2 separate regions of the Homo sapiens genome follow, and region 1 is linked to region 2. The links are contacts of gene promoters, found by promoter capture Hi-C in human tissues and cell types (Jung and others, 2019). All regions are on one chromosome and are shown on one strand. Each heading gives the region's core, a stretch centred on a gene start or on the middle of the fragment in contact. The rest is flanking DNA. Distances are from core to core; before and after follow the strand shown. Region 1 overlaps TAF4B (TATA-box binding protein associated factor 4b). Region 2 holds the start of TAF4B (TATA-box binding protein associated factor 4b).

Evidence for each region. Contacts are between HindIII fragments. The study calls those that stand out against the background at their distance.
Region 1: a contact is called between a fragment that was not itself captured here and the fragment with the promoter of TAF4B in region 2, in 5 of the 25 tissues and cell types used here (bladder, mesenchymal stem cells, mesendoderm cells and 2 more).

What each region holds. Positions count from the first base shown.
Region 1 is chr18:26,267,194-26,272,512 of GRCh38, reverse strand. TAF4B (TATA-box binding protein associated factor 4b) reads right to left here. Exons shown (of 15, transcript NM_005640.3): 3 at 4,890-4,997. Among named protein-coding and RNA genes, the nearest start is that of TAF4B, 43 kb to the right of the region's middle. The HindIII fragment of the contact is 4,978 bases long and covers 1-4,348 here.
Region 2 is chr18:26,223,694-26,229,502 of GRCh38, reverse strand. TAF4B (TATA-box binding protein associated factor 4b) reads right to left here and starts at 3,058. Exons shown (of 15, transcript NM_005640.3): 1 at 2,227-3,058. The coding sequence starts at 2,569. RefSeq lists a silencer at 2,419-2,578 and enhancers at 3,229-3,328, 3,359-3,428. The HindIII fragment of the contact is 12,633 bases long and covers 1-5,809 here.

The sequences.
Region 1 (5,319 bases), core at 610-3,109, 44 kb before region 2:
CCTTGTCAATGTTTTATCCTGTCTCCAGTAAAAAAAAAATCTGTCCTTCATAACACTTTCTAGTATAGCTACTACTTGTATCTTACCACAGGGGTCCCCAACCCCTGTGCCGCGGGCGGGTATAGGTCTGTGGCCTGTCAGGAATAGAGACACACAGAGGAGGCAAGTGAGCATTACTGCCTGAGCTTTGCCTCCTGTCAGGCCAGCGGTGCCATTAGTCTCATAGCAGCATGAACCTTCTCGTGAACTGCACATGCAGGTGATTTAAGCTGCACTCTCCTCGTGAGAATCTAATGCCTGATGATCTTGATAGACGCAACCGGAAGATTAGGGGAAAGGTTCCAGAAGAATCCCCCACGCGCCTGCCCACTGGGAGGAGGAGGGGTGGAGCCTCAGGAAGATCAGGCCCTTTGCAAGGGGGAGGAGCCTGGCCTCTCCTGTTCCTGTGTGGTGACCCGAGATTCAATTTGTGAGATGGGGGCCTGCTAACGGGAACCCCTCTGGCTTTGCTGAGTTTTTTTTTTCTTTTCGCCTAATAAATTCCATTCCCCCTCACCCTTAAAAGTGTCTTTTTTTTTTTTTTTTTGAGACGGAGTCTGGCTCTGTCCACCAGGCTGGAGTGCAGTGGTGCGATCTCGGCTCACTGCAATCTCCGCCTCCTGGGTTCAAGTGATTCTCCTGCCTCAGCCTCCTGAGTAGCTGGGATGAGAGCCGCCCCCCACCACACCACCCGGCTCATTTTTGAATGTTTAGTAGAGACAGGGTTTCAACATGTTGGCCAAGCTGGTCTCAAACTCCTGACCTCAGGTGATCCACCTGCCTAGGCCTCCCAAAGTGCTGGGATTACAGGTGTGACTCACCATGCCTGGCCCAAAGTGTCTTAAACTCAATCACAACTCCGCCTTTGACTCAACAGACCAGCCAATGGTAACTTCAATGCTTTTCAAGGCTGCACTGACTGACTAGGCATGTCTTGAGGACAGGAGGAAAACGGACTGAAGTATATGTGAAATAAATGTGTGAAAACCAATTCTACACAGAGCCAATAAAATGAGTTGTATGGAAATTTAGAAGATGAAATAGCATTTCAAGGAGGGTCATTTTCTGTACCTGTCTGAAACAGCAATTGCTTTAGGTTTATTCACATTTAATTAGAAATACTAGTCATTTGCACATTAGATTCCAATCTAACAATGGGCCAAACTACATCTTCATCAAATACAAGGTAAAAGTGAACACAAGATTTCTAACTAGTTCTTGTGTTATATTTATCAGACTAAGCCTAATAGGAAAATACTTTCAAAATTTCTTAACACACACATTTGCATTTACAGTCTGACAATCAAGTACAAGGAGTTGTATCTTCTCTCATTTTTAAGTTCTAGCTCCTTATTTCCATGCCTAAAACTGAGATGCTTATCCCTTAAAGTGGACAGATATCATTAACTTCATTCTTTACTAATTTCCACTGTTCTAGGCTACCACTAAGGAGTAGCCCAACTTAAAATATGCATCAACCTAAATTAGCTAAGAAAAATAAATGGTCCACACAAAAATATCAATGACAGATTAACATGAGCATTTTAAAATAACTACAAACACGAGGAAACATACAAATTTCAATTATTTCTATTGTGACAAAGTCACAGATATGTACTAACACAATGTAATACTCCATGGTTCTGTAGTTTGAAGCCTACATTTGTAGCTGAAAGAAATTCTAAGTTTTAGTTTAAGCTTAGTAAAGATTTTCCCCCTCAAAATGGTTCCATAGTTTGAAGCCTACATTCATAGTTGCAAGAAACTCTAAGTTTTAGTTTAAGCTTAGTAAAGATTTTCCCCTTCACCTGAATTCACAGGCTCCAGGTTGTCTCTTTTATAAAAACTACTAATAAAGGCTGGGTGCAATGGCTGATGCCTATAATCCCAGCATTTTGCAAGGCAGAGGCGGGAGGATTTGCTTGAGCCCCAGGAGTTCAAGAACAGCCTGGGCAACAGAGTAAGACCTCATCTCTATTTTTTAAATAAAGTAATTTTTTTAAAAACTACAAATATAATTAGTGATCACTGGCTATGATTACTAAGTAAATGAACACAAGCTTTCATGTTCTAGAACTATTAAGACTTCAACGAATATTCAGAGAGCACAGAAATAGAATTGTGGCTGTAGCTGGCAGGGGACAAATTAAAGCCCATGGATGTAGAGAATCCCTAATACACTCTAAGAAGTAATATCCAAGAAACTCACTTTACCACTAAACTGGCTCCCAAAAGGGCCCTGAAGAAGTAGTGTAATGGAGTTCCTTCAGTTATCCCAGCACAACATAATTTGCTCTCTGTGTCCTGAAGAGCCATAATGTGCAAATGGCAGTCTTAAGTATCTAAGATCATGTTGCTAAGTATGTTTTCTCTCCACAATATATTTTTTTAACCTGTGGTGTTATTTATGTACTCAATCTTTAAGAACTATATCCAATGAAAAACTGATATACTCGAAGTACTGATAGTCTAAAGTGGTTAACTTCTTCATAAAACAATATGATAGTAGCTATCAATAGGCCTAAATTTATATTCTTTGGCCCAATAATCTCCTTAAAATTTATCCTAAGGAAAAAAATACAGTAGGTTTTGAGATAATCAGTACATAGGTCATTAAGAACAGTTTCCAGAGTCAGATAAAGGCTCAAATCCTCACTCTGCCACATACTAGCAGAAATCAAGCAAGCTTCTTAACCTCTCATATAAAATAGAGATAACACTTCCTTATAGTATAGTCACAAGGATGAAATGAGATGAATGTAAGGCACCTAAAAAAGTGTCAAGCATGTTAAGTGACAACAAATGGTATTAGTAGAAAAATATTACGTTTAAAATCAGATTCACTGCTCATCATTTCTGTTAGATGAAAAGAACGTGAGCAGTATGGTTCAAGTTTGGAACACCAAAAGAAGGTCTGATCTACTAGCATGGGATTCCAGGTAGCAGGCTCCAAGAAGATGCATAGTCCCAGGACTATCAGATCCACTGGTTTCATCACATATGTCTTGACTCGGAAACTAGGAGTCTAGTAAAATATTAGAACAGCCAGCAAGAGGTACAGGTGAAGTACAAACATAGAGGCAATACTCTATGAGTATGGGATTCCATCCTCCAAGACTCAGCATACTCATTGAATCAAAAATTTCCATATAGTACTATGTCCCCAACAGGACAAACCCATAGATCAAGGAATCAAGGAGAAGAAGCATGAATGGCCCCCACTTACCATCACTCACAACAAACACTCACTGGAGGACTTTGTGTTTCCCATTTCTGCCCACAGGAAGCAAACACCTCTACCAGAGGACAAAGCAAGAGTTCCTGTAAATAGACACTAAGAACAGACACTAAGAGTCGGGTGCGGTGGCTCATGCCTGTAATCCCAGGACTTTGGGAGGCTGAGGTAGGCGGATTACTTGGTCAAGAGTTCGAGACCAGCCTGGCCAACATGGTGAAACCCCATCCCTACTAAAAATACAAAAAATCAGCTGGGCATGGTGGCACACACCTGTAATCCCAGCTACTTGGGAGGCTGAGGCAGGAGAATCACTGGAACCCAGGGAGTAGGGGTTGCAGTGAGCCAAGATTGCACCACAGTGCTCCAGCCTAGGTGATAGAGTGAGACTCTGTCTTCAAAAATAAAATAAAATAAAACAAAACAAAATAAAAAATAAATAAAATAGACACTATGGCTGCACTATGGTTCCTTGTAACCATGATCCAGCAGGAAAGACAGGAGTAATTATCTTAGGAAGAGTAATCGACTCCCATCATCTGGAGGAGGTAGGGTTGCTATTACGCAATGGAGGCAAAAAGAAGTATGTGTGGCAAATCCACATGATTCAGGTGATTCACTTAAATGCCTCCTTGTATTTCCTTGCCCAATTGTGATGATAAATAGACAAGCCGTAGCAACCCTGACCTCAAATGAACATGGTTATTAAGACCACAGATCCCTCAGGGATGAGGGTCTGGTCGTTATCATTTAAGTTAACAAAGACCAGTATAGTTGGTAGTTGAGGGGAAGGGAATCTAGGAAGGCACAGTGGAAGAGGGAAATAATTAATATCAGGTGCCACCAGAAACCAGCTGCAGCAGTGGGGACTGTAGTTCATCGTATTAGCCTCCTCTTTGTTTCCCCAAAGACGAAAACCATGAGAATCCCAGAACAGCTGATCTCCAACATGTATGAGGAAACACATACAAGTGATGCAAGGAGTAGCCTGTGATGAACCATGACAAGGAGTGATATGTACTGTCCTAGCTAGCTGCTAGGAATGATATTAGACAGCCTCCATTTATAAGTTCCATCAGGCTTCCCTCAGCTGCAGAGGATCACCTTGCCCAAAGGTAACTTTCCCAGGAAAGTCCACATCCAGTGACTGAACAGAGAGTAGGAATTAAGGCCCAGCCAACCATGTTAACCCATAGTGGGACAATGCTGACCGGCCATATATCCTCCAAAGTTCTCCACTAAGATGGCTAAGGCTTTATTGGGCCTGCATCTAGTTTAAACCCTTATCTACTCTCCTTTCCTTCCATGGGTATTTATCCCTACATATCCCAAATTTTATCTCAGAACCTGCTTCCAGATACTGCAACACATGGCTATTAGGCAGATTTGTATTAACTTAATACACTGAAGTAAAACTGGTATTCCAAGAATGTACACCATGTTTATCTTGTTTCCCATACCTCCAACAGTTCCCAGTTTGATAAGTGCCATCATATATTACTGAATTGCTATCTTCAATGTCACACAGTAACTTACATATCTAACAGGAGATAGCTAAATGATTTTTTTAAAAGTTAAGAGAACAACAAGTGCACGAATGGCCAGCACAACTTACTTGTACTGAGGAAGGCTTCGGAACAGTGGTTACCACAGTAGTTCCTATTTGTGCCAATTTTTTAACAGGTGTCACTGCCACTTTCTTGATTAATTGTGAGCTAGAGTTCTTGGCGGTGGAGGGGAGCAAGATAACACAAAGTCATTAGCGTTAGTAATTTAAGATCAGTACTGCAGTGAACATTAGAACACTTTATGACAGCAAATGTATTTGTTATGACTGGAGTTATAACCTAATGTGTTTTATGCACATTCTATACTATAAACCTAACTGGTCAGCTGCCCAGATGACACTCATTTCATATTTCTAAGGTGGCAACTGATTCAATAAATAACCCATTTATCTGAAATTTCAAACTAAATAAATATTACAGTATTCAACATTAAAATCTTAATCTTGACTCTTTGGTTCATACAGAAAAAATAGATTC
Region 2 (5,809 bases), core at 1,809-4,308:
AAAAAAAAGAAAGAAAGAAAGATATAAAAGAAATAGTATAAGATTCATAACCTTTTTAAAAAGTTACTTTAATCAGTGTTTCCATTTTATTCTTCAACTATTGGTTATCTTATTCTATCCAATAAGAGCACAAATGTAGTTAGTACACCCTTCTGCCACACGTCAGCAGAAAATTCCCAAAAGCAAATCCCCACTTCCTCTATAACGACCAATTCCTAAAGACAACTTATCTTCTTTCTCTCTTTTGTATGGGTTTCTCAGAGGTAAATAGCATGCAATGTTTTAATACAGTGCTAGGAACATAATTAGACTATGGTCCTAGTATGCTATTATTTTAACTCTGCCAAGTTTCAGTTTTGGTTCCTTGGTATATAAAATAAAAGACTGGAATCTAAAGTTCTCTGAATCACCTTTCAGTACTGACACTCAATGAGGCATACCGTACACATACAAGTAAAAAAATAAGCATAGCGTTGTGGAAAGAATAAACAGACCTGAGCTAAAACTCCCCCGACACCTATGGGTTGCCTGGCATTGGACAAATTATTTACTCTTAGAGACCTCTTTCCTTATTTGCTACCTACCTATTATGACCAACAAATAAAAGAATATAAATAATTTGTTAAAAGTGCTTAGCATGATAAGGCCCCAATCCTCCAGTAAGTGATTCACTCTCACTTACCAGCAAATTTTCACTCTTGACAGTTCTTTCTTTGGGGGGTTGGGGAGGGATGGGGAGGAACAGAGTCTCACTCTGTTGCCTGGGCTGGAGTGCAGTGGCAAGATATCTTGGCTTACTGCAACCTCCACCTCCCGGGTTCAAGCGATTCTCGTGCCTTAGCCTCTCAGACAGTTCTTTCTTAATACTTTTTTTTTTTGACTATTTATAAACAAACTTCAGTGACTAGACAGGATTTACAGTTTAACAAATTAGGGGGTAATTTCATTCTAACACATTCAGAACTACTTTATAAACATATATGCAGAATAACAACTCAGAATAACAATTTAGAACTGCCAAATAATGTATTCGGTGCTGCACACTGCCGTAACAGTGCCTTAACAATTTTACATACCTTGTATACCATATAAAACTGAAACAGAACTTCATAAAAAGTGAAATCTATCCACAACGTGTATGACTAACTACAACATTAGATACAAAAAGGGTCCCTGTCATTTTATTAGGGGATATAGAATCTTTTGAATCAATGCTTCCCCTTTTTTACCATCTTTGCAGTTCAGAGTTCCAATTACTGCTAAACAAAATTAACAGAAAGCAAACTCCAAGAGACTTTCAGTAAAGAAAGGCTGAACACCCCAAAATCATTCAGCATATTTACAATATGTAAATTATCACAAAGCAAAACCTTTATACAAACCATGAAATACAGCCCAATAGAGTAAAAAGCCCTAGGATAGAAAGTAGTGAAAGACTCATTAACAGTAGCGTTGACACATGGCTTCAATTGCAACTGTAACAATTGCATGACTGATCTGTTTGTCAACTGTGGCACGTGTTCCCAGTCAGGGGTTCTGCTAATTGAAAGTTAGAATCATAAGACATTTAAAGATTGTGCAGGAACAGCATTATTCGTACTTGGTACTAGAAAGCAGTAAACCGATTCTGACTTGGTTAAATTTAAAAATCTCTTTCAGTTGTAATACACAAGAACTTCACTGTTAGGCCGTACGCGGTGGCTCACGCCTGTAATCCCAGCACTTTGGGAGGCCGAGGCGGGAGGATCGATTGGGCCCAGGAGTTCGACGTCGGTGAGCCATGATCGTGTCACTGCACTCCAGACTGGGCGACAGAGCGAAACCATACCTCATTCGTTCATTCATTCATTCATAATTAATAAAATAAGTACAACGCACTTCTACATAATCTAAGCGTATGGAAATCCACGGTATAAACCGGTCCATCCTCCACATGGAAATTAACTTCGGCTATATTATCTCCTCCACCTAAGAGCCAGTGCCTGAAAGCCCCCCCGAATACGCTGATGTAGCTTTTTACTGTATCACTTAGGTGAAAAGATTCTTTCCTTAAATATGAAAAGAAAAACTATGTAGTAATGACACAAAAAGAATATGTTAACTGTAAAGTCAAGATTATGAAATGTTCCCGTGGCTCAGTTTTTTTAGGAGCAATCTGGAGCTGCGAATTTTCCCGTCGCCGCCAGCTGGACCGACAGACAAGGCTGGAAAGGGTTATCAACATACCTGGAGGAAGCTGCAAATTAGCAGGAAACTGGATTGTCGTGGTGTTGGGGGCTTTCACGGCGACTATCTGAGGAGCAGGCAGCCTAGGGCCGCTGCTGACTTTAGGAGGGGCGCTGACCGGAGCCACTTTGGTCACCAGGGTCCCCACGGGGGACCGCAGGGGCTGGGACGCCGTGGGCTCCACGCAGACGCTGACAGGAGCCTTAGTCACGGCGCCCAGGGCCACCGGAGTGCTCTCCACCCGCACCGGCAGCGCCCCGGCCGGGGCCATGGTCACGGTCCCCGAGGCGCTCACAGCAGCCGGGGGAGCGGCGCCGGCGGGTTCGGTGAGGCCGGCGGGCATCCCCCAGGGGCTCAGCGGCAGCTTTGGCGCTGCGGTTCCGGGAGCAGAGGTGAGGGGAGGCTTGGCGCGCGGCAGCCGACTCCGGTGCGGTTCGGGTTCCACAGCATCGCTGGGGAGAGGCGCGGGGGCCGCAGCAGCGAAGTCAGTGACGGGCGCCCGCTGCACGGCAGGACACGCGCGTCCCGGACCTTCCTCTCGTCCGCGCGAGCCTGGGCTGCCCCCGGAGCGACACCCGCCCGACCTCTCGCAGCTTCCTCAGCGGCGCTCACACGTGCGCTGCCTCAGCCCTGCGCCTCAGGCTCGGGTCCCGCTGCGGGGGAGCCTGGACTTGCGGCTCCCGGAAGGTCGTCGCTCACACCTCGAGCCTAACTGCGCAGCTGCTCCCCCGCCAGAAATTTCAAAACTACGAACCCCGAGTGCCCACAGCCCCCTACGCGCGATTGGCACGGCCCCGCCGCGCGGCCACGCCAGCCATGTTTATATAGCCACGCGGAGACCTCGCGCACGCGCCCAGGCCGCCGCCACCGCCCCGGGTTTCCCCGGGATCCGGCCGCGTGATTGGCCAAGGAGCGGAGCCGCGCCCGTGACGTCACTGGGGACGGCTCCAGGGAGCGTTAAAATCTTCCCCAGAATCGCCAGCAAGGAGGGGCGATGCCAGAAACCTATCACGTGGGAGGGGCAAGCTGCACTTGGAAAACTGCGGCATCCGTGTTCCTCTCCTTGTGTCCCCTGTAGTGTGTTCCTCGAAAAGCCAGCACTAGACTATCTCCAGGATTCTATTTTTTAAGGAGAAAATGGGGAGGACTGATTTCCGAGAAGAGTGACTCAATAAGAATTCAATCACGCATTTTCAGTGTTTTTCTCTGCTGTCTTCACACTGAAGCGTTGCTAAAATTCGCAGTTAGAATTGACATTGTAAAAATTAAAATGGCGTATAGTTTTATAGTCTGTGAGATGTGCCTATTTTCATATTTTAGAGTTAAACTGCCTAAAATCTTAAATGGAAAATCGTTTCTTCTTTGGTGCTGCTATAGGTGTCTCTATCACCTCTAAACATTAAAATTGTATGTCTGTCTTCTGAAAAACTTAATGCCTTTTGATATCTATATAATTAGATTCTAGCACTTAGATATTAAGCGTGATCCTAGATATTATCTGGATAAATAAAAGGTGTTGAGTGAATCGATATGAAAAAACTTGCCTGTTTGTAATGCAGTCAGAGAAGATGCCTTAATTTCAAGCTAAAGTCATTATATTGTATGTTTGTAGGAACCAACACTGCACTGAAAGGCGATTTTACAAGTAGGCAGATGCTATGATCTGAATGTTGTGGTGTTTTGTTTTGTTTTGTTTTGTTTTGTTTTGTTTTGGAAACAGGATCTAACTCTGTCACCCAGGCTGGAGTGCAGTGGCACCATTGGCTCATTGCAGCCTCCACCTCCTGGGCTCAAGTGATCATCCTACCCTCCTACCTCAGATTCCCGAGTAGCTGGAACCACAGGGGAGCGGCACTATGCCTAGCAAAAACGGGATCTCGTTATATTGTCCAGGCTGGTCTCCAATTCCTGAGCTCCCGCCTGGGCCTCCCAAAGTGCTAGGATTATACCCCCAACTGAGTGTTAAAATGCTAAAGCTGGAGTTGATAATATTAGAAGGTTGGGCCTTTGAAAGGTGATTAGATCATAAGGGTGGAGCCCTCATGAATGGGATTCCATTCAGGACAAATCATGTTAAAGTGATGAATATGTTAACTTGATTTAATTATTTCACGACACATACAAATGTAACATGATACCTCATAAATACATACAATTATTATTTGTTAGTTAAATACATTAAATAAATAATTTTTTTAAAAAAAGAAACCTCAGAAAGATCCCTCACCCCTTCCAGCAAGTGAGGTTATGGTAAAAAGACTGCTGTCTAGAAAGTAGACTCTCATCAGATACCACATCTGCCTTGATCTTGAACTTCCCAACCTCTGGAATTATGGGACATGAATTTCTCTTTTTATAAGCTACCCAGTTTATGATATTTCATTATAGAAGCCCGAGTGGACTAAAATAGCAGGCAACCTGATGGTTACAGCTCCTGCTTTTCCCCCTCTCTGTAAACGTGTGCCGGCACGTTTAGATAAGATCTACTCACAAGATCTAGTAAAGTCCACACACTTACTACCTTTACTGTCTCTCACTTCTTGACCAGTCTAAATCCATCTCATGACCTAAACCAATCACCCTCCCTTTCTATGGTGAATTCCCTGATCACTTACCTTCTAGCAAATGCCTCAAAGTGGAGTTGGGGAGAGAAAAACTCAATTTATTGAGCACCTCCTGTGTGCTGGTCACCAAGAGATGCATTTCCTTTTTCTAACTGCTTCATTTTACAAACTTAAAAACTGCAGTTAAAAGAGTAATGTTTCCAAGAAGCTGGAATTCAAACTCATCAGTATGATGCCAAAGTACATCTCTTTCCATTACTCCAAAACGTCTGATTAATCATGTATCCCACAGTGCCCTTGGCAAAATGCCTTGAGCATAAAAGGCATTTAATAAATACTTGCTAAGGTAATGAATTGAATGAAGCTATGCAACATTTTCAGTGAAGCAAAATGGTGTAGTGTATTTGAATCTTAGATATGTTCTTCACTAACTGGCCAAATTATCCCCGATTTTTTTCCCTCCATATAGTATGTTTCAATAGATACTTGGGTACGGAAGCATCAAAGTTTGTTTATAGAACTCTCCCTTTCTAAATTTCCACTAGACCCCCACCATCAATTCACACACTTTGTTTAGATAGGCAATTAACCTCCACCATCAAATTACAAAGAGACTTGGTTGGGGAACTATATTTTTTCATAAAGTTAACCTCATGCATTTCCCTCTCTCTCTCTCTCTCTGGTGTATGTGTGTGTGTGTGTGTGTGTGTGTGTGTGTGTGTGTTTCGGCAGGGCAGGGCTGGGTGGGGGTGAGGTCGTGCAAGGGAGAACAGGGTATCCCTGTCTCTGTCACCCAGAGTAGTTCAGTGAGGCCATCATGGCTCACTTGCAGCTTCAACCTCCTGGGCTCAAGAAATCCTTTCACCTTAGCCTCCCAAGTAGCTGGGGACCACAGGCTGTACCACCATGCCTGGCTAATTTTGTTTGTTTGCTTGTTTGTTTGTTTTGCAAAGACAACGGTCTAACTGTTAGGTTGGTGCAAAAGTAATTTCGGCAATATGTTGCCAAGGCTGATTTCA